3 separate regions of the Homo sapiens genome follow, and regions 1 and 2 are each linked to region 3. Evidence: promoter capture Hi-C in 16 types of primary human blood cells and fetal thymus (Javierre and others, 2016). All regions are on one chromosome and are shown on one strand. Each heading gives the region's core, a stretch centred on a gene start or on the middle of the fragment in contact. The rest is flanking DNA. Distances are from core to core; before and after follow the strand shown. Region 1 overlaps DECR1 (2,4-dienoyl-CoA reductase 1). Region 2 holds the start of TMEM64 (transmembrane protein 64). Region 3 holds the start of WWP1 (WW domain containing E3 ubiquitin protein ligase 1).

Region 1 (2,899 bases), core at 400-2,899, 3.7 Mb after region 3:
TTCACAACCTGCTTTAGTGGGAACTAATAGAGTGCAAACTCACTTGCCACTGCCAGGATGAAGATGGTACTACGACATTCATGATGGATCTGCCACCATAACCCAGGCACCTCCCATTAGACCCCACCTCCAACATTGGGGATCACATTTCAACATGAGTTTTCAAGGGACAAACATCCAAACATCCTTAGCAGGTTGACTAAGGGGACAGAAAGAAGCCTGGAGTTGTACTACCTGAACTTCTCACAGTAGGGAGATGTCAGGACTGGGGAAGAAGCATCTCCTGCTCATGGGGGAGGTATGTCCAGTTTTATGAGAGTGTTGTTGTTTGGTATATATCAAAGCTGAGACCTGAAAGATGAGTAGGAGTTAGCCAAAGGGAGAGATGTAAGAATGTTTTAAACAGGAGAGTAGTCTATGTGAAGGCCCAGCATAAAGGTTATCAACAGAGAGTGGGGAGGCAGGAGGTGAGAGACAGCTTAGTGAGCAGCCTGTTGGCTGCGTTAAAGAGTTAGAACTTTGTCCTGCAGGGTGGGAGTGGAGACAAATGGCTAAACCCTGAGTAATCCTCTCATCTGTTGAGAGGTGATGGTGGCCTCAACGAGGGCATGCATTGGGTTTGGAGACACTCAAAGTTGAGTGATATTTAGGAGGTAAAATCAGAGGCCTTGGTGATTGGTTGGTGGTGAGGATGAGAGATGGGGCTATGCTCAGTGGTGACATGTTGCCATCAAAATTGTGAGCAGAAATACGATATCATCAGGTAAGACTGGAAGTAGGGAGACCAAACATCCAAACACCAGTGATGAGGGTCTGAACTGAGGATAGCATTAGAGCTACTGGGGACTAAAACGAACTGGGCTTGGTTTGAATGTATGGGGTAAGATGAAGCCCAGATTTCTGTCTTTGGCCCCTGAGCTAAGGACAGTGCCACTCTCTTGAGTGAGGACATTAAGTGGGGGCTGGAGGGAGAAGAGGAGTAAGTGACATCAGTCCTGAAATGTCAGTAGGGTCTGGGACTCCTCAAGTGGTATATAGATAAATAAGCTACAGAAGTAGAGGAGAGAATGTTAATTCTCCCTGGGAGTGTTAGGGAAAGCACCAGAGCTCTCACAGCTGGGTTTCAATGATGAATGTTGGGTGATGATAGGGAGCAATTTGTGTAAAGACAGGAAAGTAGGAAAGAGTTCATGTTTGGGGAATCCTGAGTACTTTGTTTTCCTGAGTGTAAATTTCAGGGGAGATGAGGCAGAAGAGAGGGACAGGAGCTAGGTCGTGAAGACATATGCTATGGGGAGCGAAGGAATCTGGATATTCTGCAGCTACCAGGAGCCCTTAGAAGATCTTAAGAAGAGAAGTAACATGATCCCATTAGCAGTCCTCGGAAGATCAGTTAAAAGATGACACAGAATAGGCCCCCAATGTTTGTGAATGTTGTGAGATAGGGGTTTGAAATCAGGTGGTGGATATAGAGGGACACTGGGGAGGTAAAAGGCATGGGGCTTATAGACGGATGGGATGTATCAGGTGAAGAGGAGAGGGAGTCACCAAGGTGGGGCAGGGCAGGGCAGGTGGTGGGGGTGGGGTTAATGGATGAATCTTGGCCTTGTAGCTTAAGGATGCATTTGAAGAAATTTCAAACAAACTTCCTGCCCAAACTACAAAGCAAACTTTATATTATTACAAAAAATAATCTAGATCTCAGATATCTCCCAAAGGTCATGATAATGACATCAAAAGAGGGGGGAATTTTAAAGTTATCCAGAGTTTCTTACAGCCCATGGTAGAAAGCATGCAATAGATGTTTAGCAACTTTTAGTTTTTGCAGAAAATTCTAGGTAGAAAATGATCAGCATTCTCAGCTGTCCTGCGCTCTTCTCTTCCTAAGTTGATGAATCATTCTGAGATTGAAGTGCCAGGGTAATGATAAGTAAGTCTAGAATACAAGGTCAACTGCACTTTTATCCCTTCCAGTCTGGGAAACCCTCACACTGCATTGTAACATAAAAGCAGTGATAGAACTGTAGGCTTTCATAATTGCTGGAATGATGAAATGATGTTGCCATTTACCTTTAGCCCTAATTTATTCTTCATGCTTCAAAACCATATTTCCTACTGCAGCTTAGATATCTCTACCTGACTATTCCAGAAGCATCCCAAGTGCAGCATTTCTGATGCAGAACTCATTATCCTCAATGCTCCAACTTGGTCTTCTCATGTCAACCCAGTCATTTCAGTCAGAGCATCACTCTGCATGCAGCCACTTAAAACTAGAACTCAGTTACCTTCCACAGCTCTCACCTTACTTGCCAGGTCTGGCTGGTTGGGTTCTGGGTTCAGGCTAATTTACATGTTAAATGTGTGTGGAATATGTTGTCTTCTCTTAATTTCTACTGCCCTCGGTATCTCTCATGTACACTTAATGACTTCTGTCTGATGAGTCTCCATTTCCTTTTTTCTGGCTCACATTTAAATCTTAATTTTTCTAGAACACAAAGGCAGTGCAGATGTAACAGGGATATTGAGGTAAAGATGAGAGAGGTAGAAAAATCTCTCTCAGTTCTTTTCAGTAAACAGGAGACCTGTTTATATGCTGTTAATGAAACAGGCAAAAATGTGATGAAATAGATCAAGAACAAAAGTCCAAGCTCATGTTGTTGGGCAAGAGGCAAGAAGAAATCATGGATCTAGTGGATATCTTAAATATCCTGACTTGATCATTACACATTCTATGCATGGAATAAAATATCACATGTACCCCATAAATAGGTTAAAATGTTATGTATTAATAAAACATTAAGAAAAAGAAGAAATAATTGGACCAGGCGATATTAGGTACAGTGGTGACTCATTACGTCCTCATTTTTTGGGACCTTTGCTCTTGCAAGTAGTTTTATTT
Region 2 (4,109 bases), core at 342-2,841, 4.3 Mb after region 3:
TCCTTTACAATCAGCTCCTGCTTCTAAAATGTGAATACAACTACCTCCACCACTACAAACAATAATGACACTTAACAATTACTGGGAAGTGACTATGAGCCAGACAAAATACTTAATGCCTTCACTGTATCAGCTTTTTTAAGCCTCATAACTACTTTATTTTACAGATGAGGAAATGGAGAAGGCCAGATGGCACAGACTAATTCAGGATCATCTATTTCCAAAGCCTGGGCCTCACATGACCACTACACCTAACTTCTTTGAGGTACGCCCAGATGAATTTCTCTAATTATGGGCACACAAAAAAAATGAGTTTTAACTGGAATTTTTTTCTTTAAAAAAAAAAGGATGATTTCAAAGATAGGGAGGGATGTGGAAAACACAAGAAATATGCCTAGAAAAGGGGGCAGCTATGGTCAGCAGGAGGGGTATGAGGTGGAGAGGATACATGAGGAGGCAGAATGGAGTTCTAGAAGGCAGAAAGTCAAGTCAGACTAAAACCAACATCAGCCTTAACTAAGCTTTCTTTTCTTTCACATATCTTGGCTGAATTCAGTAAACTGTTTTTGTTGAAAGGACTACTTCTGTAAGCAGGCAGTTCAGAACAATAGGTATAAACAGGACATAACAGACCATATCCAGGGGCTTCACAGTCCACCCTGCTATGGCTGAGTCAAAATTTTACAGTAAGATGCACCATATCAGCTGATCCTGGGTTCAAACCCTAGCTCAGCCACTTGGTAGGTGGGTGACTGAAGAAGTTCCTGGATGGTTGAGCCTCTGTTTCTTCTCAGTGAAATGGTGACAATAATACCTATTGCAAGAGGCCATTTTTCTTTTTTTTCCCTTCTTTTTTATTGACCACACAATGCTAAATTGAGATTTGTCCCTTGTCAAGCTCAGTTTCAACTACATGATTACCTTAAATTATTACCAAGCACAAAATACAACCTCTTAGTTATATACTTAATATGTAAGAGACAAAATCAAAAGAAAAGCCTACCTTATTGTCAGTCGATAAATACATAATGAGCCCTTACTATTTACCCATGACTACACCAGGCATTAAATATATATTCAAGAAATAAAGAGGTGGTTGGTTGAGACACTGCCATCAGACCATGGTTCAAAGTTTGACTCTACCATTAATTTAGTACCTTGGTGACCTTGGGTCATAACAACAGAAACGACAAAAGCCAACACGTGTTTGTTAAGCCAGGCTCTGCTGCATGTATTCATCTCATGTAATCTTCTCAATAATCCTATGGAAGTAGGTATCATTACTTTCCTCATTTTACAAATAAGAAACTGAAGCCCAGAGAGAATAAACAACTTGCCCAAGGTCACTAGATTCTAAGCAGACAGCAGGATTTCACAACACCAGCCCTGTGCTCCCAACTAGTAGACACTAGTCTATAATATGTGCATAATTAACTTCTGCAGGGCTGGTTTAAGGATCAGAAATATGTGGAAAGAGCCGAGGACAGTAGTTGGCACACGGTAGATGGACAAGAAAAGGCCCAAGGATACATGCTATATTGAAACACAAACTAACAGAATCAATCTATTTAGGTTCCTTAGCCCAACCTTCTTTCAAAGTCCTGGGACAGTTTATTTATTATTACCCAAGACTGGGTCAAAGTTCAAGTTTATATTTCATACTATAGGAGGGTATGAAAAAGAAATTTAAGACTAAGACTATACCAAACTACTGCTAACACTAAACTTTATCTCTACAGAAAACCCCTTATCTGTTTCCACTGCCTCTACCAAATACCATTCCATAGTCATTGCTGCTGTTGCTTGGAATCAAGAGGTTTGCAAAAGGCATTTAAAAGAAAAGAAAAAAGAGAAAGGTTTTAATTTCATCACAAAGAGGCAGATTGGTTAGTATTATTCCTAATTCAAAACAAAATGAGAAAGTTTCCAGAAACTAACAATAATTTACGTTTTGAAACAAAATAATGCATCAGAATCACTTAAAATACATCAATTCCTATGGTTTTGAATGCAATTATCTCTTTATTTCAGTAAGTTTTCTTTAAGTCTAGCTGAAGGGTTAAGTTCCTGGGAATCTACATAAACTCTTGGTAGTTTAGAATCACTGAATTTGGGGAACATGGTAATCTACTTTTTTAAGTCCTTCACTTTCGAAAAGAGAAAAGTGAAGCCAGACAGGGTCAGTAACTTGATCCAAAGTCACAAAGTTTGTAAAGACCAGATTCCTTTCTTCCAATAAGATGATCTCTTCACTAGCAGTGTTTCTATCCTAAATCAGTTGCATGGAGATGCACACTAGCTATAGAAACCTGAGTAAGCAAAACATATGAATACAAGGACAGAAAAGAGTCTATAATGGTGCAGATACAGAAGAAAAATATATGCTAACTGAGCAAAAGATTATCTGTTCTGTTTTATTCACCACCCCGTGATTTCGAAATGAAGTTCCTCCAAAGAAAGAAAGATAAACAGTAGGATTTTCTTCTTTACATCACATTAAAGCACAATTACTTGAAGAAGAAAAAGCCCATTTCAAATTTAGCAAACTCCAAAATCTGGAGTCTGCAACTAGCTCCTCCACTGTTTACTGAAACACTTCCTTTGGTCCATGTCGCTAAAAACTTGAATCAAAACCCTGGATGTATTTATGTAAGCAAGAGAGAAAGCTTTCCTCCCTAAATGTTGCCAAAGCTGCTACAAAAGATGACAAGTATTAAAGATGGGCATTTCCATTCATGTCCCTGCATGCCTATTGTTAAGAGGGCTTTTCATTTTTAATTACATTCCCATCCCTAAAAGAAACATTAGTTTTTTATCTAACAAACTCTCTTTCGAGGCTCCGCGTTAGGTATGTTTTATGTGTAGGACAGACTTCCCAGGCTGCGATGGAAAGTAATCGTAACTCCTGCCGTCAATGTCACTTCTCTGCTGGTATTTATCTGATAGAGCGCCCTCCTAGGGCCGCCACAAGACCGCTCAAAAACAGACTTGGAGAGGGATAGGCCAGCGGGACCCCACTTACCGAAAACACTGCATTCTGAAGCCCAAAAGGTATGGGTGTCAGTCTGGCCAGCGCCACCACTTTCAGGCCGCTTCCTCCCTCCACTACGCGAATAACCGCGCTCAGCTTCTCGCTGCTCTGGATCCTGGCGGCCACCCAGGCGGTGAGGAGCCGCTTGCAGACCACATGGGCGATGAAGGTGCCGATGAGGACGCCCACCATCATCAGACCCATGCCCAGCACGAAGCCGTACAGGTAGCCAGCGGCCACGTTGAGCACGATGTAGCCCCAGCCGCAGGGGAAAGAGACCACGATGAAGCCCACGACGAAGAGCAGGACCCCCAGCAGCGAGTCAAGGCTCTCCACCCACAGCAGGAGGTGGTGAAGGTAGCGGCGGACCAGGGCCAGGGAAGCGAAGCACAGGGCGGCCAACACGCAGACCAGCACGAGGCTCCGGCACCAACAGGTGCTGCCGAGGCAGCAGCAGCGCCAGTTTCTCACCTCAGCCACGCCGACCACCACGCCGCCGCCGCCACTCCCGGGGCCGCCCGCCAAGGCCCCGCCCGGCTCCGGCAGCTCCGAAGCCTCGGGCGGACCGTGGCGCTCCAGATAGGCGCCGAGCAGGGCGCCCGAGGCCGCCGCTGCTGCCGCCGCCGCGCTCGCCCCGCCCCCGCGGGGAAGGCGGTCCGCCGGGCCGTCCCCGCCCGCACCCCGCGGCAGGGCCCAGCGGGCCGGCAGCTCGGCGAGGCCCGGGAGGGCGGCGTGCTGCAGCAGCCGGGGCAGCGCCTGGAGCAGGATCCCGCCCGGGCTCCGCATGCCTCGGCCCAGCGCGGGCCCTCAGCCGGCCAGCCCCTCCGCCGCGGCGCCCGTTAGGCAGCTGCCCTTCATGGCGCCCGGTTCGCCCGGCATCGACTCCCTGCGTCCGCTCAGAGGGTGGGAGACGGCCCGTAGAAGGGCGCGGAGTCAGCGGAGGAGCGACGGCCAGGCGGGGAGTGAGGAAACTCCTGCCCCAGCACCCACGGAGCCCACTCCGGTGGTGCCCGCCCCTTGTCGGCCAGAGGGGGCGGGGCCGCGGGCGATGGGGCGGAGCGGGCTGTGTTCTGGTCCG
Region 3 (4,514 bases), core at 1,977-4,476:
ACCGCCCCCATGATTAAATTACCTGACACTGGGTCCCTCCCACAACACGTGGATATTATGGGAACTACAATTCAAGACGAGATTAGGGTTAGGGATGGTGGCTCATGCCTGTAATCACAGCACTTTGGGAGGTCGAGGCAGGAGGGTCACTTGAGATCAGGAGTTCAAGATCAGCCTGGCCAACATGGTGAAACCCCGTCTCTACTAAAAATTAAAAAAAAAATTAGCTAGGTGTGGTAGCATGTGCCTGTAATCCCAACTACTCGGGAGGCTGAGGCAAGAGAATCACTTGAACCCAGGAGTGGAGGTTGCAGTGAGCCAAGATCACACCACTGCACTCCAGCCTGGATGACAGAGCAATACTCCATCTCAAAAAAAAAAAAAAAAAGATGAGATTTGCGTGGGGACACAGCCAAACCATATCACAGGGTTTGTCATGTTGGTCAGGCCGGTATCAAACACCTGGCCTTAAGTGATCCACCTGCTTTGGGCTCTCAAAGTGTTGGGATTACAGGTGTGAGCCACAGTGCCCGGCCTGTAGACCTATTTTAAAACCACTACAGTTAGAGAACAATTTTTTAAACAAATGGTTTGGGGGAATACCATGAGCTATTTTTAAAGGAATAAAAGTTAGATTATCATTGCAAAATAAATCCAAGAAAATTAAATTATTTAATGAAAAAAGTAAAATAGTCAAACAAGTAGAAAAAAGTAAAGACAGATGAATTATATGATCTCAGGATGGGAAAGATGTATGAAGTAAAAAACAATGGAAGAATACAAAAATGGAAAAGATCAATAGTTTTACAAAGGACTAATATCTACATTGTGTGAAGCACCCTTTTGTGAAATACCTCAGTAAGAAAATGGACAAAGGACAAACAATAAGCTACCATACATACACATATGAAAACATACCATGATGATTTGGGCACATGGAAGAAGGACAATCACATACTGTCATGTAGTGTTGTGGGAAAATTGATAACCATTATGACAATCATTTCTTGATTATGTGCCATGCTCATGTGTTAAGTAGCTCTATGCGTGTTATTTATAGCAATTTATATATATTTTTTAATACAACATGTGGAAGCACTATATTAATTTTCTAGTTGAGACACAATTAGATTAAGCAATTGGCCAAATCTCTCAGCTCATAGGCAGCAGGAGGGTCAGGTTATCCATTAGGCACAGTAGACACAGTGCCTCAGGCTTATAACACTTTCGGGGGCCCATAAAAATGTTTTAATTTCTTTTAAAATCAGAAGGCAAAAAATTGAATATTTAGGTCAAAGAAAATATTTTAATGTATAATGTTAATATCTTTTTCTTCATACCAATGCAGTAATAAAATATATTTTGTAGTATTATTTTATGGAAGATGAGGCCCACACAGGTATAAGCACCTAGGGCCTGTGAAAGTCAGAATGTGGCACTGGGTGGCAGAGCTGTGTTTTGATGCTGGGCGATGTGATACCTGAGCCTATGCTCTTTCTGGAAGGTAGTTGCCAATATGTTTCAAAAGGGCTAAACTTGTTCATACTTTTTTATTACTTTTAATAATTTATCTAAGACAGTTAATAAGGACATGAACAATGGTTATGGAATACTATTTATAATATTGTTCATTTGAAACCAAACAGTCAATAACAAAAGGCTGGTTCAATATTGGGTGTCAGCTTGAGGACTAGGTGAGTACTAAGAGCTTCTGAACGGGGAGGAAATTGAGCAATGAGGGGAGCTGAAAGTGAGACACAGAGCAGGAAGAGGAGGCCTGCATGCATTCTGGAGAAGGAGTCCAGATCCCTGCTGGGGAATACCTACGGAATTTCTGAGGACGTGTTTGTAAGCACATTATTGCATCTATTTAAAGGGACCAGACAGCAAAAGCAAAAAGATGAAGAAAATCTTAGTACATGTTTAAAGCAGAGATGAGTGGGCACATATGGGGCACTGTGAAGAGTTTTTCATAACAGGAGAGATAGAGCATGTGAGCATCAAAGGAACCTTGAATATCACGTTAATCTTTGTCAGGAGAGCTCCGAAAAGCCAAAGAATGATTTTAAGCAGTGGAATGACACAGATGTATATTTTCGAATGATCTTTGTGGATATAATGTGCACCAATTTCAACTATGAAGCCAGAGGACAAGAACTAATGCATGGAGGTAGGCGGGAATGTGCATTGTTCAGTCAAGAGATACTTGTTGAATTCTGTACACACTCATGAAGTGTTGGGGTTGTTTTTGGTACACAGTTCTTTCAAAAAGCTCAGTTAAAATGGAAGGGGAGAGAGAACCAGAGGTTTTAAAATCAAGGGAAAATTTAGGACCTAATCTTAAAACGTGATTATGCTGAGGAGTTGTAGGCAGTGGAGAGGGTGAAGTTAAAGATGTGCCAAGGACCGCCCACAGTGGGGAGCAGGCAGTGGAGAGGAGCAGGGACATCTAGCCTCCGAGATAGAAGGAAAACTAGTAAGTCTGGGTGTGGACGTAGATATAATCTATGGGGGTTGGTCAGGTGGTTGGGCAAAAGCTGTAGAAATCCATGCCTGAAGGCTTCTGCTTCTCTGAAGTAGAAACCGGGTCACCTGGTAAGCAATGTGGTCCCACTGACTTCTATTTGCACATTGGCCTTTCTTCTAAAAGCAATACACATAACCAACAGTACTTTTCTAAACTAGTTGACTTTTCTGTAAAATGCAGACAGTAGACACTACTTTGTCAGATTGTTGTGTGCGTTAATTGTGCGGACACGTATACTCGGTCAATAAGTATCTGCTTTATCACCGGGCTGATGTGAGTGAGGACTAGGTGGTGGGGCTTCCACAGATGAACGTTTTGATTAATAAAAAATGGACTGAAAGTCTTCGGGTATGACCAATGGCTAAATGCAATTATTTACTCTTGCAATGTGTTCGAGGTCACCCAGCTAGGTCAAGGAGTATTTATGGACAGCCTACTTTTGCCCCCGGACCTTAAGAAGTCCTGCTCCGGGATCAGCCGCCGACCGGAAAGTCAAATTAGCAGTGCCCAGCGCGAGCTTAGAGCAGCCTCTTCCCAAATCTCAGCGGCGGCCCCGCCCCTTCCACACGTTCAGGCCCCGCCCCTCCCTACTATTGGCTGTCCGTCCCCCTCCGCTAGACTGCTCGGAAGACCCGGAGGAGCGGAGTTTTCCTAAGGCAGCATCCGAGCGCCCTCGCTGCGCATGCTCGGGGGAGGCGGATTCCGGGTCCGGAGTTGGAGGCTTTGGGCGGCCGCGGCGTAGCGCGCGGTGCCGGGGCCGGCGGGGAGGCGCGCGCTTAGGGCGCGGCGCCGGCGACGCGGCCACGCGGCGCGCTCCCGAGGAAGGGAGGTGTGGGGTCGGCTGGGGGTGGCGCGTGGACGGGGTGGGGGTGGGGGGAGGGTCGGGTGTCGGCGAGCTCCGCGTGCGGGTTCCGAGTGGCTGCTGGCGGCCTGGGCTGCCGGGGCCGACGCCTGGGTGGCTGCTGCCGCCGCGCCTGCTGCGAGATGGCGATCTTGGGCGCGGAAGGGTGAGGGCGCCCGCCGCAGGAGGAGGTGCCGCTGCCGTGGCCGCCCGGCTGCCGGGAGCCGACAGCTTCGCGCCGGGTAAGGACGGCGCGGCGCGGGGCTGGGGGTGCGAATGGGCAGGGCGGGAGGGGGCACGGGCCCTGAGCCTTGGCCGCGGTGCTGGGCGCCCGGCGCCGTCCGCCCCCGGGCTGGACCCTCCTAGGACCCGTCGGGGGACGGTCCGCCCTACCTTGGCTACCTTCTCCAGCCCGGGAGTCGGGAGTTTTCTGGGGTGGGGTCACGGGTCTTGCCCGGAGTTCGCCCTGGCAAAGGCCTGTGCCAGTGATCCTGGAGCGGAGCGAAGTGTTTCCGTGACTCTGCAGCCGCAGTTCTTAGGCTTCCTTAGCCTTCTCTTCGCCTTCCTCCACCTTTCCCTAACACCTCCCTGAAAACACAAATACATGGACTCATTGCCCGTTCCCTGACTTTCACCCCAATTTCAGCGTTGCAAACCAAGGACTCCAGCTTTGGAACGTCTTTTTCTGACATGTTTTTATCACTCTCCGTTCTTCACCGACTCTGCAGCTCCCCATCCCCCGCCCCCCCAGCGCAACCCCCACCTCCACCTTTTGTGACCTGGTAGGTTCCAGTGACCTTGCAGATTTTACCAGTCCTTATCTTGTCTGTGACTTACAGACTCTCCTTTCATCTTCGTGTTCTTTTTTTAAAAAAATTTAATTTTGTAGTTTGCTCCTTACCTTTACGACCTTTAAATGATCAGTCTTGTTCACAGTCCTTTCTTTGCTCTGCCGATTTGGAGTTTTCTCTGCTGTGGTAAATATATGAAACCTTCATTACCAAAGAAGAGTAGTGTCTGTTATAATTTTGACATTTTTACTCTTTCAGAATAAAATATTTTCCAGGGGCTTGATTTTGCCTTCTTTTTCTATTTGATAAGTTTAACAAATTTTTTTCTGTGTGTGTGTAGGTTAATGTGGAACAA

The links. Contacts are between HindIII fragments. The CHiCAGO score rates a contact against its expected background, and 5 or more counts as called.
Region 1: a contact is called between a fragment that was not itself captured here and the fragment with the promoter of WWP1 in region 3, in 1 of 17 cell types (non-activated CD4 T cells). The highest score is 7.2, in non-activated CD4 T cells.
Region 2: a fragment that was not itself captured here is called in contact with the fragment with the promoter of WWP1 in region 3 in 1 of 17 cell types (naive CD8 T cells); the score reaches 6.4 in naive CD8 T cells.

Annotation. Positions count from the first base shown.
Region 1 is chr8:90,005,980-90,008,878 of GRCh38, forward strand. All of the region lies in intron 1 of DECR1 (2,4-dienoyl-CoA reductase 1), which reads left to right. Among named protein-coding and RNA genes, the nearest start is that of DECR1, 6.0 kb to the left of the region's middle. RefSeq lists an enhancer at 107-166. The HindIII fragment of the contact is 5,232 bases long and covers 1-2,899 here.
Region 2 is chr8:90,642,089-90,646,197 of GRCh38, forward strand. TMEM64 (transmembrane protein 64) reads right to left here and starts at 3,995. Exons shown (of 3, transcript NM_001008495.4): 1 at 3,023-3,995. The coding sequence starts at 3,817. RefSeq lists an enhancer at 3,022-3,351 and silencers at 3,462-3,861, 3,992-4,109. The HindIII fragment of the contact is 2,145 bases long and covers 520-2,664 here.
Region 3 is chr8:86,339,321-86,343,834 of GRCh38, forward strand. It overlaps WWP1 (WW domain containing E3 ubiquitin protein ligase 1), which reads left to right and starts at 3,227. Exons shown (of 25, transcript NM_007013.4): 1 at 3,227-3,610. WWP1-AS1 (WWP1 antisense RNA 1) reads right to left here. Exons shown (of 6, transcript XR_007060994.1): 2 at 4,270-4,340; 3 at 3,762-3,956. RefSeq lists a silencer at 3,318-3,777. The HindIII fragment of the contact is 10,725 bases long and covers 1-4,514 here.